Linked DNA regions of Homo sapiens: all the other regions are linked to region 1. Evidence: promoter capture Hi-C in 16 types of primary human blood cells and fetal thymus (Javierre and others, 2016). All regions are on one chromosome and are shown on one strand. The core of a region is centred on a gene start or on the middle of the fragment in contact, and the rest is flanking DNA. Distances in the headings are between cores, read along the strand shown. Region 1 holds the start of NFE2L2 (NFE2 like bZIP transcription factor 2). Region 2 overlaps GPR155 (G protein-coupled receptor 155). Region 3 holds the start of WIPF1 (WAS/WASL interacting protein family member 1).

Region 1 (2,834 bases), core at 225-2,724:
AGAGGGGGAACATGTTAAGAAATTGAGGCAAATTCTCAACTGAAAAGGAAACATATATAAAGTACTCAGGGGAGAAATAATAGCTGAAAGCAAAAAATTACTAACAGACTAAAAGCAACAGAAATTCTAATCTACACTCGCAACTCTTACCCTTGACAGCACAGAAGAGAATATCCCGTCTTACACATTTTGGAATTGCAATTCTGAAACGCTAAATCCAAAGACAAAGCCGCTCTGGGGAAAATAGCAATTGCGCAACAGATCAACAGCTCCAACCTGTCCCTTGGCCCTGGCGCGGCGAGGTTTGCACGCTATAAAGCAGGAAAGGGCCAACCGAGGGCTGCTGTGACGGCCAACCGAGCGCTGTCACGGAAGCCAAGGCCACGCGCGCGGTGAGCGCCACCAGGGGGCACCGCGTCCGAACTAGAAGCCCCGGGTGCCGCCGACTCCGGCCTCAGAGTCCACTGCCCTCGCCCGCACTTTCCCGCGGCGTTACGAGGGGCCAACTCCGGGTGCCCGAGCCCGAACCCCTCCCCGGCCGAGAAAGTGCGCGGGGCCCGGCTCAGCCGCCACACGTCGGGGCTTCTGAGCCCGCTGGGCACTTAAGGCGCTCCTCCCTCGTCCCGGGGCTGGGCTTTCAAGAGAGCTCAAGGCTGCCAGAGAGTGATCCGAGAGATGGATGACTTCGCAAAGCCGCGCCCACAGACGGCCCAGCGGGGTGAGCGCGTCGCAGCCCGCACTCAAGGAGGTCTTGGGGCGCGGCGAAGGGGCTCCGGGTCCCAGCCCGAAGGCGACCTCAGTTCCCCCGAGAGCGGCCCCGTGACTAGGCACATTTTTGCCGGCACCGAGGCGGGGGAGCCGCGCAGCCCCGGAAGGGCCGGGCCGCGCCGGCTCAGACGGCCAGCGTCCGCCCCCTCTTGCCCCGCCGCCCACCGGGCCGCTCAAACTTAGGGGCTCCGGAGTCCCAGCTCTCGGGCCCGGGGACGCGGCTGGATTCTCCCCCAAGGCCCACGCGAGCGGGCTCAGTCCCCAGACCTTCCCGCAACTTCCCACCCGTTCGCCCTCGGGCTCGTGGTCGGTCGGATCACCCGGCCGCGTCCCCGCTGCCCCTCCCCGCCCTGCCCCGGCGCAAGCGCGGCGGCTCTACCCAGCGCCGCGGTCCTGGCTCTGGCCAGACGTGGGGGAAGCCGGTTGCGGCTGTCCCTCCCGGGCCGCGGTTCCCTAGCTCCCCCGCCCCCGTCCCGGCACCACCGCAGGGCCCAGAGGGCCGAGGCAGCACCTGCTGGGACGGGAGTCCCGGCGGCGGCAGCTCCAAGTCCATCATGATGAGCTGTGGACCGTGTGTTGGGGCTCCCCGACGGCGGCCCTGTTCCGGCTGCCGAGGCGCGGCGCGGACAGGGCGGCTCTGGTGGCGGCGGCGGCGGCGGTGGCGGCTGCGTCGGCGGCTCCTCCGGGCTCCCCGGCACTCGGTAATCGGCTACACGCCGGCGGGCCCCTGCCCCGCTCCGCCTCCCGCCCCACAAGGGCGGGGCAAGAGTCCGGGCCCTTCCTTCCCCCGCCGGCCGCGCGGGCTGAGCTTCCGAAAATCCCCCACCCGCGCCGGGGCTGACGCAAGAAGCTCGCGGTCCGGGGGCGGGAAGGGACTGCCAGCTGGGGTCCCAGCAGGCGGGGGACCTAGAGGAGGTCTCCGTTAGCTCCCCGGTGCCGGCGTTCAGTTTGCCCTCCCCCGCAAATAAGGGCAGCGCTCTCGCCCGCGAGATAAAGAGTTGTTTGCGAAGGTCGCTGGAGTTCGGACGCTTTGAAACAGTTTAAACAGTTGGAACAAACACACCCGGAGCCCCGGAAAGGCGTTGGTGTAGGAGCTGCGCCTCCCTGATTTGGAGTTGCAGAACCTTGCCCTGCTTTTATCTCACTTTACCGCCCGAGAATGGCGCCAGCCGGGGTGGGGGGGGCTAAAGATTTGGACCCAGACCGTGCCACTGCCAACTGCCCTCCCGCCCTTGCTCCCTTCCCGGGCTGGGGCCAGTGGGCCCTGCCTAGGGGAGATGTGGACAGCTCCGGCAGCTCGTGTTCGCAGTCACCCTGAACGCCCTCCTCTGAACTCCCACGTGTCTCCATTCTCCTAAGCTCAGGTCGTCAAAGGCAAACGGAGAAGCCCCTTTAGGTCGGAGAGTGGTCAGTATTGCCCACCCAGAGCTGGGAGAAAAACGGGAACCCCAAGAGAACCTCTTCCCACCAAAGCGCAGCCACCACGCCACAGATGGCGCCCTTCAACAGTGTGTAATACCACAACATGCTGTAATCGTTTACTCTTTACAAATTTCTTTTTCACGTACTCACAAAATAGTACAAATTAAAAAAAGTTACAAAAACGTTTGTATAGTATTGGCTCATTTTATAAAAACGTGCCTAGAAAAAAATTGAAGGTTACCAATATATTAAATGCTGTGGAATCAACGATTTTTATGTTTCTCCTTGTTACTTCCAAGTATGCTTTAAATCTGCAGTGCGTATGTTTTATGTCTTACATTAAAAACAATTATTTAAAAATTAATCATTGCCCAGAGAAGACTTCAAGTATTTGAAACGAGGAATATTGTGAACTCTTATAAGGGTTCAAAGAGGATAGATAAATGGTTTAGTTTTGTTTTTTTCTTCCTCTTCTGCATTTACAATCTTTCTAACTCTATACAAGACTGGTTTTCAGTTTCTAGCTTCCTGGAATTATTCAAAACCAGGTGAAGTAGATAATACTGGCAGTGGTTTTGCTATTTCATTCAAAAACCACACACACACCCCTGACTATAGCAATCAACGCCCAAAAAGCTGCAGAG
Region 2 (2,834 bases), core at 163-2,662, 2.8 Mb before region 1:
TGATTCTCTCCATCAATTGAGCTCCGCCTGGTGGATAAGGGCATCGGGCACACATAGTCTCCGCTGAATGTCCCCATGCATCCAAATTCTCTGGAAATTTCAGAAGTTCTCAAGGCTACATTGAGGAGTCACCCAGGGACCAGAGTCCTTTCCAGCCCGTGGTCATATTTGAATATAGGATGGGAAGAAGGGTATAGTAGAGCACTACTAATCAACTTTAAACCAATAACTTTTTTTTCTAAAGACAGGGTCTTGCTCTGTCTCCCAGGCTGGAGTGCAGTGGTGCAATCTCAGCTCAGTGCAACCTCTGTCTCCTGGGTTCAAGCGATTCGTGTGCCACCACGCCCGGCTAATTTTTGTATTTTTGTAGCGACATGTTGCTTAGGCTGGTTTTGAACTCCTGACCTCAGGTGATCTGCCTGCCTCAGCATCCCACAGTGCTGGGATTACAGGCATGAGCCACTGTGCCCGACCTGAACGAATTAACTTTAACTTTTCTGTGTCTCACCTTCTTCACCTGTAAAATGGCAATAATAGTAATACCTACCACATGGGAACTTGCGATTATTCCACTGAAGTCTTTATAATCACATCTGGAACAGAGTAATTACTTAACGGAAGTTAAATATAACTTTTGGTAGAACATGAGAGAGAGAAAAAAATGACGACCTCCCACCAATATACCTTTAGCTCCTTCTACACCCGCCACACACACTGGCCCCAGGGACTTTGTGCCACAGGGACTTTGCACATTCAGTTCACTCAAGTGTCACGGAAGCAGGGACTATGCATGTTTTTGCTCAATGTTGTGTCCTTAACATCTAGGACAGTACCTGGCATACACGAGACAGAAAAAAAAATTTTTTTTAATGAATAACTATAATTACTTATACTTAAACCTTTTACCCTTTCATGGATCAATGTTCTCTTTCAGGCACTATTTAGTTTACAGACAGAATTTTTTTTTGTTTTCTGAATGATAAAGTATTATAAGTTTTCCACTACAGCAACAGAACCAAGAACACAAAATATGTCTAAAGGTGTTCATGAAATGTTAAAAAATACAAAATGTTTTGTAAAATGTTCTAAAGAGGTTCAGAAAATGCTAAAGCATGGAACAAATTCAAAACACGAATAGTACAATAATTATCAGACCCCCTCTTGCTGCCAGGAACACAATGAACATGAGGTCTGGATAACTCTAAAGCTAATCAGCTTTTATTAGTATCTTGAAATTAAAATGACGACAATTGCCAATTTCTTTTTCTTTTTTTTTCAGATGGAGTTTTGTTCTTGTTGCCCAGGCTGGAGTGTAATGGCGTGATTGCGGCTCACCTCAACCTCCGCCTCCCAGGTTCAAGAGATTCTCCTGCCTTAGCCTTCCCGAGTAGCTGGGATTACAGGCATGCACCACCATGCCTGGCTAATTTTGAATTTTTAGTAGAGACGGGGTTTCTCCATGTTGGTCAGGTTCGTCTCAAACTCCCAACCTCAGGTGATCTGCCCGCCTCGGCCTCCCAAAATGCTGGGATTATAGGTGTGAGCCACCACGCCCAGCCAACAATAGCCAATTTCTAAGTGATTATTCTGGGTTTACCATCTAAAGTAGACTGATATAAGGTAGAAAGTAAAAAGCTCATGCTTCCAGAAATTTACAATGCTCAGGTTAAGTCCTCAAACATCTATATCACATTAAAAAGACTTAGATGGCAGCCCAGAGATCACCAACAACTGATAGCTGGCGTGGGTACAAGGGAATTTTCTCTGTGCTACCCTTGTATAAACCGAACCATTTGAAAACCTTATATTTAATCTGGATTAGGACAAGTATTTTCCTACTAGGATTAGATAGCAGTGGTCAATATAGTACATGAAACCTACACTACTCACATACTTGAAGTTTACCAAATAAGCATCAAATTATATCTTGGGAAAGCTACCGGTTGGTACAGATACACATACTTGAAGTAAGGAGCTGGTAAACAATTAAACAAAGGCGTTAAACATTTGGAGCCCTTAAGACGGTGTGTACTTGGAAAGGCAGTGCTAAACAGGAAAGTGATAAATTAATCCAGTCTTCTGTTCACTTTCAAAAGTGCCTAGAGTATTAATAACTCATTCTGCTTATAAGCCCTTACTTGTACAACACGAGCATGTCAAGGCATTCCAATAATATTTTTTAACCAACAGTTTAAACTAGCAGAAGTTCAGTGGAGAGTCAAACAGATTCTGAGCTTTATGGTTTATCAACTCATAAGTTACTTAGTCTTTCTGAACCTTTGTTTCCTCAACTGTAAAATGAGAGTAAAAACCTCCCTATAGGGATCAGTCATAGCAGCTCACGCCTGTAATCCCAGCATTTTGAGAGGCCCAGGCAGGTGGACTGTGTGAGCCCAGGAGTTTCAGACCAGCCTGGCCAACATGGCAAAACCTTAGTCTCTACAAAAAATTAGCTGAGCTTAGTCATGCGTGCCTGTTGTCCCAGCTACCTGGGAGGCTGAGGTGGGAGGATCACCTGAGCCTAGGAGGTCTCTGCAGTGAGCCATGATCACACCACTGCACTCCAGCCTGAGTAAGACCCTGTCTCAAACAAAGACCTCCTTAGAGGGATATTGTGTGGATAGAATATTTTATATACAGCTTATCACAGAGTAGGCCTTCAAAAAACGGCAGCAATTGCTATTAGGAACTGTTGTCTTACTACTAATAATGATAAAAAAGTAAACATGTTAGTTCTTCAAACATAACTGGTAAAAGATCCACCAACTAAAAAAAGAGGGATGGGATGCGTCATAAATTTATCAGTTTTTGTTTTATACCAAACAATTAAGATA
Region 3 (2,834 bases), core at 170-2,669, 2.7 Mb before region 1:
CAAAATAAGTGGTCAGTAAATATCACAGTCTTTCCCCCTATTTAACCACGAGAAAGAGAAACCATGAGCTGATTTAAATCAGCCTATGTGTGTACACCCATGCAAACTTCCATATTACAAGTGAATGGTGAAGGGAGATGTGTATAAAGTGCATTTCAAATTTCTCAGAAAAGCATACTGATTAAGGCATTCCTTATTCTAGTATTTTTTTACAGTTTTAATTTTCAGGACAGACAGAGGTATTTATGGAAGTCCAGGAGAAATGCTTTCTTCAACAACAAGCACATGTTTAACAATTTGGACAAAATGAGTCAAACCTTAAAGCAGAAATATATCATAATTTAAACAGCCAGAAACTTCCAAAGTAAATGATGTGTGTTCATAAAATGTTAAGAAGGCTTCAAAAGGTCATAACACTTAAAGGGTCCAGGAATTCAGTATCACTTCATCTCATATTTTAGGTAGGCTGGGGAACTTCCAGCCTACAGGCCAGATTTAGAATTTGATCAGATCTGAAGTTGCTGCTCGATCCCAGGAACTAATTTTCACCACAGGGAGTTCTCTGAATATTTCAGTCCACCCAGAGTATGTGTAACCCTTAAAAGGTTAGATATTAGAGTAGCTGAAGCGCTATGAGCAAATAGCCCATGAATAAACTTTTCAAAGAGCAATAGAAAACCTGACTTAGTGAAAAATGACTTTCAGGTAAGTCATTTAATGACCTTAGACTGATAAAAGGAAGAGTTTTGACATGATGATATTCCAGTACAGAAGAACAAAGCTTGATAAAGTTAACACATAGCACTGTAGTCCAAGTGAATTGTAAGAGTATGATTTCCACACAGATCAACCTCAAAACCTTTTCCCAGTTTCTCATCTTCCTTTCTCACTGTCCTGTCCTATTCTTTCCCCAGTCTTTCATCTTTCTCTCTACCAAGCTGTCTTACTTTGCTTAGTTAGAATCTTTCAGTAGCCTTTTCATTTACCACCTCTCCATTCTCTACTACATATACTAGTTATGCCATTAAATTATTTAAAATAACTTGTATGCCTGTAATCCCAGCACTTTGGGAGGCCGAGGCGGGCAGATCACTTGAGGTCAGGAGTTTGAGACCAGCCTGACCAACATGATGAAACCCTGTCTCTACTAAAAATACAAAAACAAAAAAAACAAAAAACTTGTACTTAGTGACTAAAGTTATATGTGCCTTCTGAGTTTTTTAAAGCTTTATTTTATATTTCTTCACGGGGAGAAAGGAACATAAGTCAAATTGTTTCTTCCTACATATTCTAGAAAAAAGTTTTTTAATGTAAAAAGTTTCCTTAGTTCTGCTCTATAAGCCTCTGAGTAGATGGCTTGAAATTTTAAAAATCACAATATTTTATGCCAAAACATTAATCATATTAAACATAAAGTTATAACTAATGCTGTAGAATTTGATTTGCGATAGTAATTGTGCACACACTGTTATAACAGGAATAGACTTATTCTAAAAGACAAATCGTATTATAAAAGACTCTGCTTAGAAATGGTTTAGTTTGAGTTTTGAACTTAAATAGCACATTGGCAGCAACAGAACTGCAACAGCTTAGTTCCATGGTATTTTCGTTTGAAGCTTCCAATGGCTCCTTGTACTTTAAAGCACTTATTGTTGCTGGCCACACCAAAGATTCAAAGGCAGTTGTGTGGACAACTGTATCATACACCAAAAGGATATATTTACCGACATAAGCCCCCAATTTAAATGGGAAAATAAATTCCTGTGGATCCAAACTTGTCCAGTGGTCAAAAAAATTCTATTGAAAATCTTGCTTACATTTTGGCTCAAAGCATAAGTTATGAATCATTCACAATCACCATAGTGGTGAAACTAGCATTCTGGGCAACAGGAATAGCTCACATGGTGCTCTACAGAAAAATTAAACAACTTTATCTTGACATACTATGGTCCATTAAAAGCCATTTAGTTCTTCCCTGTAGCTGATAAATGAAATAAACTTAGTTTGAATATAATTTTTCTTACCGTTAAAGGGTACTGCAGGGAGCCATGGTCAGGGACACAGGCAGACAGAGGGCCAGCGGGACAGGAGCCAAGAGAGAAAACTGTCCCTGAAAAAGGTATCATCTTCTAACGCAAGTGTGGGGTCGTTTTTGGACAGCCATTTTGGACAAGCTCTGGCCTCTTGTTAAATGTGACATACTGAGTCAGAGGCAGACGTCCTTCTGTGGTTATTCGCTTCCTGTCTGATTAATTTGTTGTTTGTTGTTCCTTCCTCCTTTGCTGCAGAAAAAGAAACTAGATTGGTTTTGCTTAAGAAGCAAGCAAGAAAAAAAACCTAAATTAAAAAAAATTAAATGTTTCTCCTCCCCACAAGGTGTAATACACAGCTATTTGGTACAGTGACAAGAGGAGATGAGCACCTCCACTCAGTGAAGAGTCCAACTTTATTCTAGATATTCCCACAAAAATAACTGTTCATGGAACTTGAGATTCCTTTAGGAAAATTATATTTGAAAGTATCACTGTAAATACTGACTATTCCATTGAGTAATAGGGAAAAGAGTCACTCAAGAAAGAAAAGCTCTTACCTACCTTACCTTATCGCTTCATTAGGCTAAGGGCTTCTTCTCATTTACAGGGCATTCAAGTGTGTGGGGAGAAAGTTACAAATGCAGGTAAAGAGAGCAGGTCAGGTGTATGAAGGCAAATGAGGTTCTTTTTTTGGTTTTGTTTTATTTATTTCTTTTTTTTTAGAGAGACAGTCTTGCTGTCACTTAGGCTGGAGTGCAGTGGCGTAATCATAGCTCCCTGTGGCCCTGACCTCCTGGGTTC

The links. Contacts are between HindIII fragments. The CHiCAGO score rates a contact against its expected background, and 5 or more counts as called.
Region 2: a contact is called between a fragment that was not itself captured here and the fragment with the promoter of NFE2L2 in region 1, in 1 of 17 cell types (non-activated CD4 T cells). The highest score is 5.5, in non-activated CD4 T cells.
Region 3: a contact is called between a fragment that was not itself captured here and the fragment with the promoter of NFE2L2 in region 1, in 1 of 17 cell types (non-activated CD4 T cells). The highest score is 6.8, in non-activated CD4 T cells.

Annotation. Positions count from the first base shown.
Region 1 is chr2:177,263,253-177,266,086 of GRCh38, forward strand. It overlaps NFE2L2 (NFE2 like bZIP transcription factor 2), which reads right to left and starts at 1,475. Exons shown (of 5, transcript NM_006164.5): 1 at 1,280-1,475. The coding sequence starts at 1,324. RefSeq lists an enhancer at 1-648 and silencers at 329-488, 749-1,618. The HindIII fragment of the contact is 5,708 bases long and covers 1-2,834 here.
Region 2 is chr2:174,482,326-174,485,159 of GRCh38, forward strand. The region is part of intron 1 of GPR155 (G protein-coupled receptor 155); the gene reads right to left. Among named protein-coding and RNA genes, the nearest start is that of GPR155, 3.3 kb to the right of the region's middle. The HindIII fragment of the contact is 4,228 bases long and covers 1-2,834 here.
Region 3 is chr2:174,595,577-174,598,410 of GRCh38, forward strand. It overlaps WIPF1 (WAS/WASL interacting protein family member 1), which reads right to left and starts at 2,228. Exons shown (of 8, transcript NM_001375834.1): 1 at 2,025-2,228. RefSeq lists an enhancer at 2,251-2,430. The HindIII fragment of the contact is 390 bases long and covers 1,225-1,614 here.